Regions from separate parts of the Homo sapiens genome. Here region 2 is linked to region 1. Evidence: promoter capture Hi-C in 16 types of primary human blood cells and fetal thymus (Javierre and others, 2016). All regions are on one chromosome and are shown on one strand. The core of a region is centred on a gene start or on the middle of the fragment in contact, and the rest is flanking DNA. Distances in the headings are between cores, read along the strand shown.

Region 1 (5,528 bases), core at 2,927-5,426:
GCTGGGATTACCGGCGTATGCTACCACGCCCGGCTAATTTGTTTGTTTGTTTTTTGAGATGGAGTCTCGCTCTGTCACCCAGGCTGGAGTGCAGTGGCGCGATCTCCGCTCACTGCAAGCTCCACCTCCTGGGTTCACACCATTCTCCTGCCTCAGCCTCTCCAGTAGCTGGGACTACAGGTGCCCGCCACCACGCCCGGCTAATTTTTTGTATTTTTAGTAGAGACAGGGTTTCACCATGTTAGCCAGGATGGTCTTGATCTCCTGACCTTGTGATCCGCCCGCCTCAGCCTCCCAAAGTGCTGGGATTACAGGCGTAAACCACTGTGCTCCACTGGCATGTCTTTGTTCTATGACTGTTCTTTGGCCAGCCATGGATCTCTTTACTCTCCCAATCTCCCACTCTCTCTTGCCTACATGCCCTCCTAATCCAGCTTTGAGCCCGTGGCCTGACATTTAATAGCACTCTTGGCCAGGCGTGGTGGCTCACGCCTGTAATCCCAGCTCTTTGGGAGGCCGAGGCAGGCGGACCATTTGAGATCAGGAGTTCGAGACCAGCTTGACCTACATAATGAAACCCCGTCTCTACTAAAGTACAAAAATTAGCCAGGCATGGTGGCAGGTACCTGTAATCCCAGCTACTCGGGAGGCTGAGGCAGGAGAATCGCTTGATCCCAGGAGGTGGAGGTTGCAGTGAGCTGAGATCATGCCACTGCACTCCAGCCTGGGCAACAGAGCAAGACTCTCTCTCAAAAAAAATTTAATTTAATTTAATTTAAAAATAGCACTCTTGCCAGTAACCTAAACTTCGTTACTCACCTTCCCTGCAAACCCCTGAACACATGCAATAGTTGTTTCTCTTCCAGCCTTCATCAGAGCAGCCAAGGGAGGCAGGAGGAGGAGGAGCGATGAGAATACTGGCAAATACTTCTACAGCATGTACTAGGTGCCAAGCACAAGTGCTTTACAGAGGGTAACTCGTTTAATCCTCCCAACACCATGAGGTAAGTACTGTTATTATCATTCCCATTTGTGGATAAAGAAAATGGGGTGGCCAGGCGCGGTGGCTTATGCCTGTAATCCCAGCACTTTGGGAGGCCGAGACAGGTGGATCACGGTCAGGAGATCGAGACCATCCTAGCTAACATGGTGAAGCACCGTCTCTACCAAAAATATGAAAAAATTAGCCGGGCGTGGTAGCAGGCGCCAGTCATCCCAGCTACTCAGGAGGCTGAGGCAGGAGAATGGCGTGAACCCGGGAGGCGGAGCTTGCAGTGAGCTGAGATCGTGCCACTGCACTCCAGCCTGGGCGACAGAGCGAGACTATGTCTCAAAAAAAAAAAAAGGAAGAAAAAAGAAAGAAAGAGAGAAAGAAAGAAAGAAAGAAAATGGGGTGAACAGAGGTTAAGTCACTCAGAAAACCCAAAGCACACAGCTAATTAAGGTGAGCAGCCATGAATGAACCTGCACCATCTGCCCAGAGTCCCGGTCCACCAGGGGAGGATGAGGCCAGGGAGGACTTGGCTTCTTCCGCCTTGGGTCCAAGCACTACTTTCAGCAACCAGGGGCACAGTCCAAAAGAAGCCCAGACTCTCACTGCTCTTGGGGCTGACATTATCACTCTGGAGGTTAATAATAATAGCAATAATAAAACCAGCTTCCATTTTCAGGCTTTAAGATGTGTGTCCTAAGCACTTCACATGTATTTATTTATTCCTTTAGTCCTCCCAACAACACTATGAGGTAGAAGCTACAGTTAGTTATCTCCCTTTTCTTGAGGGACATGAAGGGACGTAGTGACGAGCCTAAATTCTACAACAGAGTGGTGGATCAGATGGGAAGTGTGGCAGCTGGATGCCAGAGCCCGGCTCTTAACCCAGACTCTTTGCCTACCTTTGCTCCGCCTGGAGTTGCTGGCCTGCTCCTTCTGCTTTAGGGGAGGAGCCTCTTCTGCCTGGCAGTTCCCCACCCAGGCCTGATCCACAGCTCCAGAGCCCTGCTGTGGCAGCCCTCTGTCCCTTCTCCTCCGAGGCATGTAGGTGGCCAGCGGAGCCCTTAAGCAGGGTGAGGACGGGAACTCCATCTGGAACTCCCCAGGCCCAGCTGCAGCCCCAGCAGCCTCTACTCTCAGAGGCTTGGGTCCCCCACTAGTGCCCTGTAGACAGGGCCTGAGCTGGTCCTCCCCAGGCCTTGCCCGCCTCTCCTGATGCAGAGCTGGCTCCCTGCTCCTGGAGGGTGGGGCCAAATCCGGGATAGATGGGGCTCCAGGCCAACAGCAGCTGGGGCTCAGTGCCCAGGACTGCGGCAGGAAGCACCAAGGCTTCCCTAGCCCCTCCTCACACCCACCAAGCCTCCCGGCCCTATCCCGGGTGGGACCCTACCCCTCCCAATTCCCAGGAGTTAGGGGAGGCCAAGCTGTCATTTATTCGTCCTGTCCCATCTCTCCCTTCCTCCCGCTTCCCACTCCCCTGGCAACCAAACCAGACCCATCAAGGAGAAGGAACTGGCAGCTGTGCAGGGAGAGACTAATGGCCCGGAAGGAAGGAGGGGCCTGGAAAGGAGACGAAGGCGGTAGGGACGTGAGCAGGGCGTTGGCCCTGGCCCATCTCACAGGACGCACAAAGGGGGGAGGGGGCTGCTGCCCTGCAATACTGAGGAGCTGGCCAGCCAGGGAGCCGCCCTCCTTACCCCCAGCCAGATATCCAGGCAGGAACCTGAAACCTGCTTCCCCAGATGCACTCTCTTGTCCTCAGGTCCCATCTGAGGCAGACCTGTCTCACAGGACAGCGCTGGAGTCCCCAGCAGCAGCAGCAGCCCCAGCCCTATGGTTCCTGGCAAACCCAGCAGACCTCAGCAACCCGGCTCCTGCAGACCATCCGAGCTGCCTCTGTCCACTCCTGGGCAGGTTGTGCTTGCATTCTGGAAGCTGTTTGACATACAAAGGCCAGATATCAGCCTTCTCGCTAACTCTGGAGTAGGGGAGGGTGTGGTGGGATGTGTGATTGTGTGTGTATGTGTGTGTATGTAGTGTGTGTGCGCATAGATATACAAAGCTGTGTGTATGCATCTGTTTGCGTGCGCAGGTTTGTGGACCTGTTCTGGGGCCTTCTCTCTTTCAGACTGCTGGGGATGGGCACTTTCTCTTTCCCCATCTCTTCCCCATCCAGCCCCACCCATCCCTGGTACCTGCAACTCATCAATACTGGAAACCAGCTCCTGCCAGTCCATCCATCTCTCAGCCTTGGCAGCCGCTGTTGCCCCTCAGCCCCCTCCCCTTCCTACCTCAGGAATCACTCTGGTTCCTGTAAAGCCCATGACTGAGCAGCAATTGGTGTGGGGTTGGGGGGAGGGAGAATCCAGTAAACCAAGACAGAATACAAAAGGCCCACTTAGCCCAGCCCGTGGCATGGGGCAGACCCTCCCGAGTGGGATCCAGAGCTGGGTCCAGCCACCCTCAGCCCCCTATGATGTACCCACCTCATTGGGGCTTGTTGCGGGGTAGGTCTAGGTTTGGGGGCTGTGTCTTTAAGGCTGAAACATCAGCAGACAACCTCTGCTGGGCCGTCTTCAGGGGAGGGGGAGGGGGGCTGGTCAGCCCATTAGCAGCAGAGCTGGCGCCAGGCACCAGCCCTTCACAGGGCCCTGGGGATTAGGGAGAGTAGCTCTTCCCCAGCCCGATCTGCCTCTGCGCCCCTGTCTCCTATTCCTCTCTGGGTGTGGTGAAGGAGGGGTAGCTGACAGCAGGTGAAAATAGAGCCTGGCCTTCAGGGGGCAAGTCAAGGCACTAGCTATGGGGCCTAAGCCAGGTCAACTCTCCCTCCAGCTGGCCTCCTCCCTACTCCTGTGCCAGAAGCCTGCCCTTTAACTTCAGGTCCTTCTACCTCGCAATTTTCAGGGACTCTAGTTCAAGTCAGGCCTTCCTACCCTAGGTTCTAGCTTTGGGTGCTTGTTGGGAGGAAGTGACCCCCACCCCAGCGGCAACAGGGGGCAATCAAGTGGGTAGAGGCCTGCAACCAGGGAAGGGAGGGGAAGGCGCTCCTGCTGTTCCGCAGGGGTGGGGCATCCCCCTCCCCATACAACCCCCCTCCAGCGGGCCATCAGGCCAGTGGGAGGAGCTGCCCGTGCCCCCCCTGAGACCGCAGGGCTATAAAGCCGCCTCGCAGCGGTCTGCGGCTCCTTCCCAGCCCCCGGCCTAGCTCTGCGAACGGTGACTGCCCATCCTTGGCCGCAATGAGCCACCACCCGTCGGGCCTCCGGGCCGGCTTCAGCTCCACCTCATACCGCCGTACCTTCGGTCCACCGCCCTCACTATCCCCCGGGGCCTTCTCCTACTCGTCCAGCTCCCGCTTCTCCAGCAGCCGCCTGCTGGGCTCCGCGTCCCCGAGCTCCTCGGTGCGCCTGGGCAGCTTCCGTAGCCCCCGAGCGGGAGCGGGCGCCCTCCTGCGCCTGCCCTCGGAGCGCCTCGACTTCTCCATGGCCGAGGCCCTCAACCAGGAGTTCCTGGCCACGCGCAGCAACGAGAAGCAGGAGCTGCAGGAGCTCAACGACCGCTTCGCCAACTTCATCGAGAAGGTACGCTTTCTGGAGCAGCAGAACGCGGCCCTGCGCGGGGAGCTGAGCCAAGCCCGGGGCCAGGAGCCGGCGCGCGCCGACCAGCTGTGCCAGCAGGAGCTGCGCGAGCTGCGGCGAGAGCTGGAGCTGTTGGGCCGCGAGCGTGACCGGGTGCAGGTGGAGCGCGACGGGCTGGCGGAGGACCTGGCGGCGCTCAAGCAGAGGTCAGGGGGCAGGGCTGGGCCGCTGCCGTCGAGGCGAGGTCGAAGCGGCCGTCGAGGCGGCTGCTCTTGCCTCCCCTCGCTTCCCCTCTCCATCAGCAGCCCAAGGGTGTGGCTCCCCTTACCAACCCAGGTGTGTGCGGGCAGCATCCCTGCCCACGGGCTCCAAGTGCCCCCCGCTACCCCTTTGCTCTGAGTGTTTGGGGAGGTGGGAGAAGTGGGTATCTGTGCCTCCCCTGAGTAATGAGGAAACCCCCTTTTCAGCTCCCAGTCCGTTAGAGACAATGCGGGGCAATTCCATTAGACAGCCTCAGCCCTCCATTTAGAGTCCTGGGCAGCAGAACAGCCTCTAACCGGATCCTGGGGGGCGTGCGGTCTGGGGTGCGAGCTGGGCGGCGACCCCGCAGTTCAGCCTCTGCACGCTCTTCCCGTCAGGTTGGAGGAGGAGACGCGCAAGCGGGAGGACGCGGAGCACAACCTCGTGCTCTTCCGCAAGGTGAGTCCGAGCCCCTCTCCGAGTTCAGCCTCCCCACCGCTACCCCCGATCTCAGTATCCAGAGGTGGCATCGGTGGGCGCGGGGAGAAGGGGGTAACCCAGATGCCTCCTGAGGCAGACAGGGAAGGCCTGGTCCTTCCTTGGTCTGCGCAGCCCCTAACTTATCTTGAACCTCCACTGCCACCCCTCGAAGGACGTGGACGATGCCACTCTGTCCCGCCTGGAACTAGAGCGCAAGATTGAGTCTCTGATGGATGAGA
Region 2 (5,528 bases), core at 1,772-4,271, 190 kb after region 1:
GTGCCTCCCTGCTGCAGCCAGTATGATGTGAATAATGTTAGTACTCAACTTACTTTATGTATGTGTAAGGAATATCAGTAGATTATAGCAAGAATCTGAGATCCTTAGAAGAAAGGCTATATATCAAGGTACTGTTAAAATAATGGCAACTTGAGAACTAGTATATTTGGTGAGTTACACAGCACTAATGTAAAGCATAAAACCTGGACTGCCTTTTTGATTCTACAGTAGGATTTACTGTGTGACTTTGGGCAAGGAGTAGTACCGTGACTGATTTTCTCATCACTATGAGATTAAGAGAGGATATTCTGGGAGGGATTATAATTCCATTTTTCTCCTTGCTTGTCAGAGGGAATAATTTGCCATTATGTTAACAAAAGAAAGATACAAGCAATCCAAAACTGTTAAGTTTTTGGTTGTTGAATTCAGATACAAATTCAGTAACCCCCATGAGAATCCTTAGACTTACTCCATACCTGGGTTCCACCCCCTCTACACTTGTCTCTATGGTGAGCAGCCTAGAATTTGGGCATAGGCTTTTCCATGATGGAGATAATCTGCTCATGGATAATTGTATCAAATTCACTTCAGTACCTCTAAGAGCCTTACTGTGTGTTCATATTAGCTCTGCCATACCTCTTTAGATAGCACCCAAGGTGGTAGAGCTTTTAATAATTTTCACTCCATAATAATGTTATTGTGGAGGTCTAGCATATGTATTTAGTATTGTACAGTTAGATAAATTAATGCATTGTTGTTATATTGAGATGATTATTCTTTTTTTTTAATCAGTCTCTTGCACTAGACAGTAAAACTCTAAGAGGGCAGGAAACGTTTCTTGTTCACCGTTGTATCCTAGTGTATCTCAACGCCTACAGCAGTACATGGATGTACAAAACACCTCTTAGAGACCTTGGTGACATTTCTTTTGTGTGTATACCAAGAAGCAGAATTGCTGCATCATGTGGTAGTTCTATGTTTTATCTTTTAAGGAACCAACATGTGGTTTTTATTGGGGCTGTACCATTTTACATTTCCACTAGCAGTGCCCCAGAATTCCAGTTTTTCCACATTCTTGCCACACTTGTTGTTTTCTGTTTTTTTTTTTTAATAAATAAATATGCACCCTGGGTATAAATATAATCAGAACTTTAAACAAAATTAATTCTAAAACACTTAGTACAGTATGATCTTCAGGTTAAATTATAAATTAACAGCAGAATGAGACTGTGTTTTAAAGCTTGTCAAGACACCTGTTCAAGGTTGATTTAATACATGGAATAATCAGGCTCAGCTATTTCTATGTCATTCTCAGTGCCTAAAAACAACTTTTACCTAATTTTTGAAGCCAGCAAAAACAATAATAACAAAACCTGTAGTATTTACAAATATGTCATTTGTACTGTAAATAACATACTTTTTCTCAAATATACCTGAATGTGTGCTATTTGAAATAATTCCAACCAGCCTGACCAACATGGTGAAACCCTGTCTCTACTAAAAATACAAAAATTAGCCAGGCGTGGTAGCGCGTGCCTGTAATCCCAGCTACTGGGAATGCTGAGGCAGAAGAATGGCTTGAACCCGGGAAGCGGAGGTTGTAGTGAGCCAAGATCACAGCACTGTACTCCCCGCCTGGGCAACAGAGCGAGACTCCGTCTCCAGAAAAAAAAGAAAGAAATAATTCCAAAAAAACTTCTGAAATGGTTCCTGATAGAGTGAAATAAATAAGAAAGCTCAACAAGCTCAAGGCTTCCTCATTTTTTTTTTTTTTTTTTTTTTTTTTGGAGATGGAGTCTTGCTCTGTCGCCCAGGCTGGAGTGCAGTGGCTCATTCTCAGCTCACTGCAACCTCTGCCTCCCGGGTTCAAGCAATTCTCCTGCTTCAGCCTCCCCAGTAGCTGGAATTACAGGTGCCTGCCACCATGCCTGGCTAATTTTTGTATTTTTAGTAGAGACGGGGTTTCACCATGTTTGCTGATCTCGAACTCCTTACCTCAAGTGATCCGCCCGCCTCAGCCTCCCAAAGTGCTGGGATTACAGGTGTGAGCCACTGCATCTGGCCTAGGCATCCTCATATTCTTTATGAATCTTGCCTGAGAATTTTTTTTTTACCTGAACACCCAGGATTAGAGAATATTTAGCAGCACTTTTTCCTTAAAAATGTGTTTCTGATAGAATACATGCTCTCTTATCACAGCTAAATATTAATAAAAAGATGAAATCCTGCCTTATTTCTTACCAATAGAATTAGGTAAATCTTAAGCTTTCTTTTCATGAAAAAATAAGTTTAAAAATCACTAAGTATTGATGGGAATTAAAAATTACTTTCTGTATAATACTAAGAGACATTTAGGTGCCAGTTGATTAAAGTAAGGTTTTGAATCTACTTGAGGTGTTGGTTTAAGTTTAAAAAGGCAGTATCAGCTAGTGAGTAGACAAATTAAGATGTTAGATTATTGCTTTATCTTTTTGGTGACCTCATGTCATAGAATATAAATGCAAAATTGTCATTTGTGCCCTCCTGACCTATGTAGACCATCTCAGTGCCTCCCATGCCCTCTGGCTTACTTAAGTTTGGCCACTGGGCAGCATTGGCAGGAGATTCCGAGGAAGGGAGGAGAGTAAGGTAGGGGACTTTTATTCCTCTAATCTTTCTCTGAGGGGTAGCTGTGGGCTGAGTGTGTCCTTTGGCCAAAGGTCACAGCAACTGTCTGATGGCGCTTTCTATACCAGATGAAACAAAAATAAAAGGGCCCTTTCTGTCTTTGGCTCCTGTAACTGCTTCCTCCTCACACTCAAGTCTCAAGTAGCAGTGCACATTGCTTAAAAGCCAGCAAAAACAGTAACAAGAGGTACAGCCCTATCTTGGGTGGTTTCCCTACTCTTTGCTAACACCTTTGAAAATACTCCTATTATTAAACTCTATTAAGATTGCCCAATTTGAGTATGCCATTCGCTTCCTCTTTGGGATCTTGACTGAAATAGCTGCTTTATATATTTTTAATCATTATCCTAACAGTATTCCAGATAAACCCTAATTATACTAATTTATTTTGGCCAATAATTGAGTGTTTGCAGAACTACCCTTTGTTTTTTGTTTGTTTTTTGAGACAGGATCTCTCTCTGTCACCCAGCTGGAATGCAGTGGTGCATTCACGACTCATTGCAGCCTCAACCTGCCAGACTCCAGCTGTCTTCCCGCCTCACCCTCCCAATTAGCTGGGGCTACAGGCAAGTGCCACCATGCCCAGCTAATTTTTCTCCTTTTTATAGAGGCAGGGTTTCACCATATTGCCCAGGCTGCTCTTGAACTTCTGGGCTCAAGCGATCCACCTGCCTTGGCCTCCCAAAATGTTCGGATTATAGGCGTGAACCACCACACCCAGCCTTTCCTTTGTTTTTCTTGCAGTTTGTGTCATCTAGTATGTTGTTAAAGGAAAAAAAAAAAAAAAACAGAGCTAGATAAGAGGCTAGTAATAGAACCCAAAATGCTGTTTTGTGTTCCCTCTTTTCCCTAAAAGAGATTGGTGGTTTGATTCACTAATAAGTGGATTATTGATGTCCTTCATATCATTCCCACTGCTCATTAATACCTCTTTGGGGGAGGATACATTAAAACATTCGAGTTATATCATTTGGCTGATCTATAGGAATTCTGAGAAGGTTCTAAATAGTGCTTTGGTTCTATAAGATCTTCGTTTTTGTAGACTGTGTCTCTTTTCAATTAATAAAGATAATTGGGAGTTAACCATATTATATAGTCATCTAGAAAACTGAAGCTTAAATACTGTTTGTATAAGTGTTACCCGATTTTTCATTTGAGTAGCAGTCTAGAAATGGCCGGTATTAACAAAAGTTAAATCTAAATTAATTCAAGGTTCAAGATTAAGCCATGAAAGAATCTTTAATTGAAACATATCTGTAATAACAGCAAAATAATTTGGAAAGTGTACTAGAGTATTACCGTGGTTTTTTTGTACCCCTTTTCTTAACATTTTTCCTTTTACTTGCCTTGTTGAAATTCTAACTCCTAAGCTACTTCCAAGTACAGTGCAGAGATCAGTAATATTGTTATCACCTGGGAGTAAAAATCTGCCACAGGCCAGACTGCTGAATCACAACCTACATTTTAGCATAAGATTCCCTAGGTGGTAAGTATGCACATCAGAATTTGAAAAGCACTCTAACCATTTCCTGAGATTTTATCTTATTGGGTTAAAACAAAGCTATTGAGTGTTAAAGCTGAAGTAATTTATTGATCACATAGGGGTAAAGAAACTGATTAAATTTGCACATAGCCTTTTTCTTTGTAAGTACAGAGAAACCAGAATCTTTTTTTGTAATCAATCATATTGAACTGTTTTTCCATAACCTACAACTTGGATGCCTTGCGTCATCAAGCATTATATTAGGGACACACACATGAATGTATTCACGGGTTTATAGTCTACAAACATAACATGTATGGTTCTGGCTAGAAGAGGAAATAACTGTGTGTTGTTAATGCTACAGAAGCTCCCATCCCACTCACATTTTCAGATTCTTTAGTGTTAAATTTTACCATGGGGAGCTATTTACTTGTGACATTTTTAGAAGGCCTTAAGGTGGGATAATTAACAACGATATCAAGGATTACAGGACAGTCTAATATGGTTGATGTATTTAGTGTTTACCTCAAGCTGTGACAGTTTTTATTAAAATTAAATTTCTGTATTATAAGTTTAATTCAAAAGGCAGTTATATGTTATCTATGTAACAGAATTTGCCAAATAGCAACTAAGTTGCTGTTAATTGTTTTATGGGACGAAAGCAGCCAGTCTTGGCCCTTCTGTCTTAGGGATGGATTATATTTGGATCATGTTGAATATATTTTTCCCTTATTCTTTCAGATTCATCAGGATTCATTTTTGATTTGCAGTCCAATACCGTACTGGCCCAGGGAGGAGCTTTTGAGAACATGAAAGAGAAGGTAAGACTAGTCACTATGGATAGTAAACTTAAATGTCATAGGAAAATTTAGGTACTAATACGACTAGTGGCTACCACAAACTCATTATGAGACTGAAATTTTAAGAATAAAACAATGCCACTATATATCAGAGAGTGACGGCCATAAATAGGTTCTGATTGCGCAGAACCTATTAACAGAACCTATTAAATGCAAACATTTTCTTTGCCTATCTCCATGTATATTCATTCTAAATTCTTTTGAAGATATTCAGTATTAATTAGTTGATTAATATTTATGTGGCTGAGTGTATCTCACTTGGCAACATTCCTTAAGGAACAATCGAATAGGATCTTCCCAAGTACTTGAAGAGCATTCTTAAGTCCAGGAGCCTTCAGAGCCAAGACAAGAAATAGGTCTTTTTTTTTTTTTTTTTGAGACGGAGTCTCGCACTGTCACCCAGGCTGGAGTGCAGTGGCCGATCTGGGCTCACTGCAAGCTCTGCCTTCCGGGTTCGCGCCATTCTCCTGCCTCAGCCTCTCCAAGTAGCTGGGACTACAGGCGCCCACCACCATGCC

Evidence for each region. The method cuts DNA at HindIII sites, captures the fragments that hold promoters and counts their contacts. A CHiCAGO score of 5 or more calls a contact.
Region 2: a contact is called between a fragment that was not itself captured here and the fragment with the promoter of PRPH in region 1, in 1 of 17 cell types (erythroblasts). The highest score is 6.2, in erythroblasts.

Annotation. Positions count from the first base shown.
Region 1 is chr12:49,290,971-49,296,498 of GRCh38, forward strand. PRPH (peripherin) reads left to right here and starts at 4,177. Exons shown (of 9, transcript NM_006262.4): 1 at 4,177-4,775; 2 at 5,208-5,268; 3 at 5,462-5,528. The coding sequence starts at 4,231. It overlaps TROAP-AS1 (TROAP and PRPH antisense RNA 1), which reads right to left. Exons shown (of 8, transcript NR_120449.1): 6 at 4,290-5,528; 7 at 3,478-3,565; 8 at 1,661-2,926. RefSeq lists enhancers at 1,669-2,432, 2,433-3,195, 3,275-4,192, 4,193-5,109. The HindIII fragment of the contact is 27,974 bases long and covers 1-5,528 here.
Region 2 is chr12:49,479,699-49,485,226 of GRCh38, forward strand. SPATS2 (spermatogenesis associated serine rich 2) reads left to right here. Exons shown (of 14, transcript NM_023071.4): 4 at 4,892-4,971. Among named protein-coding and RNA genes, the nearest start is that of KCNH3, 57 kb to the right of the region's middle. RefSeq lists an enhancer at 1-201. The HindIII fragment of the contact is 1,516 bases long and covers 2,264-3,779 here.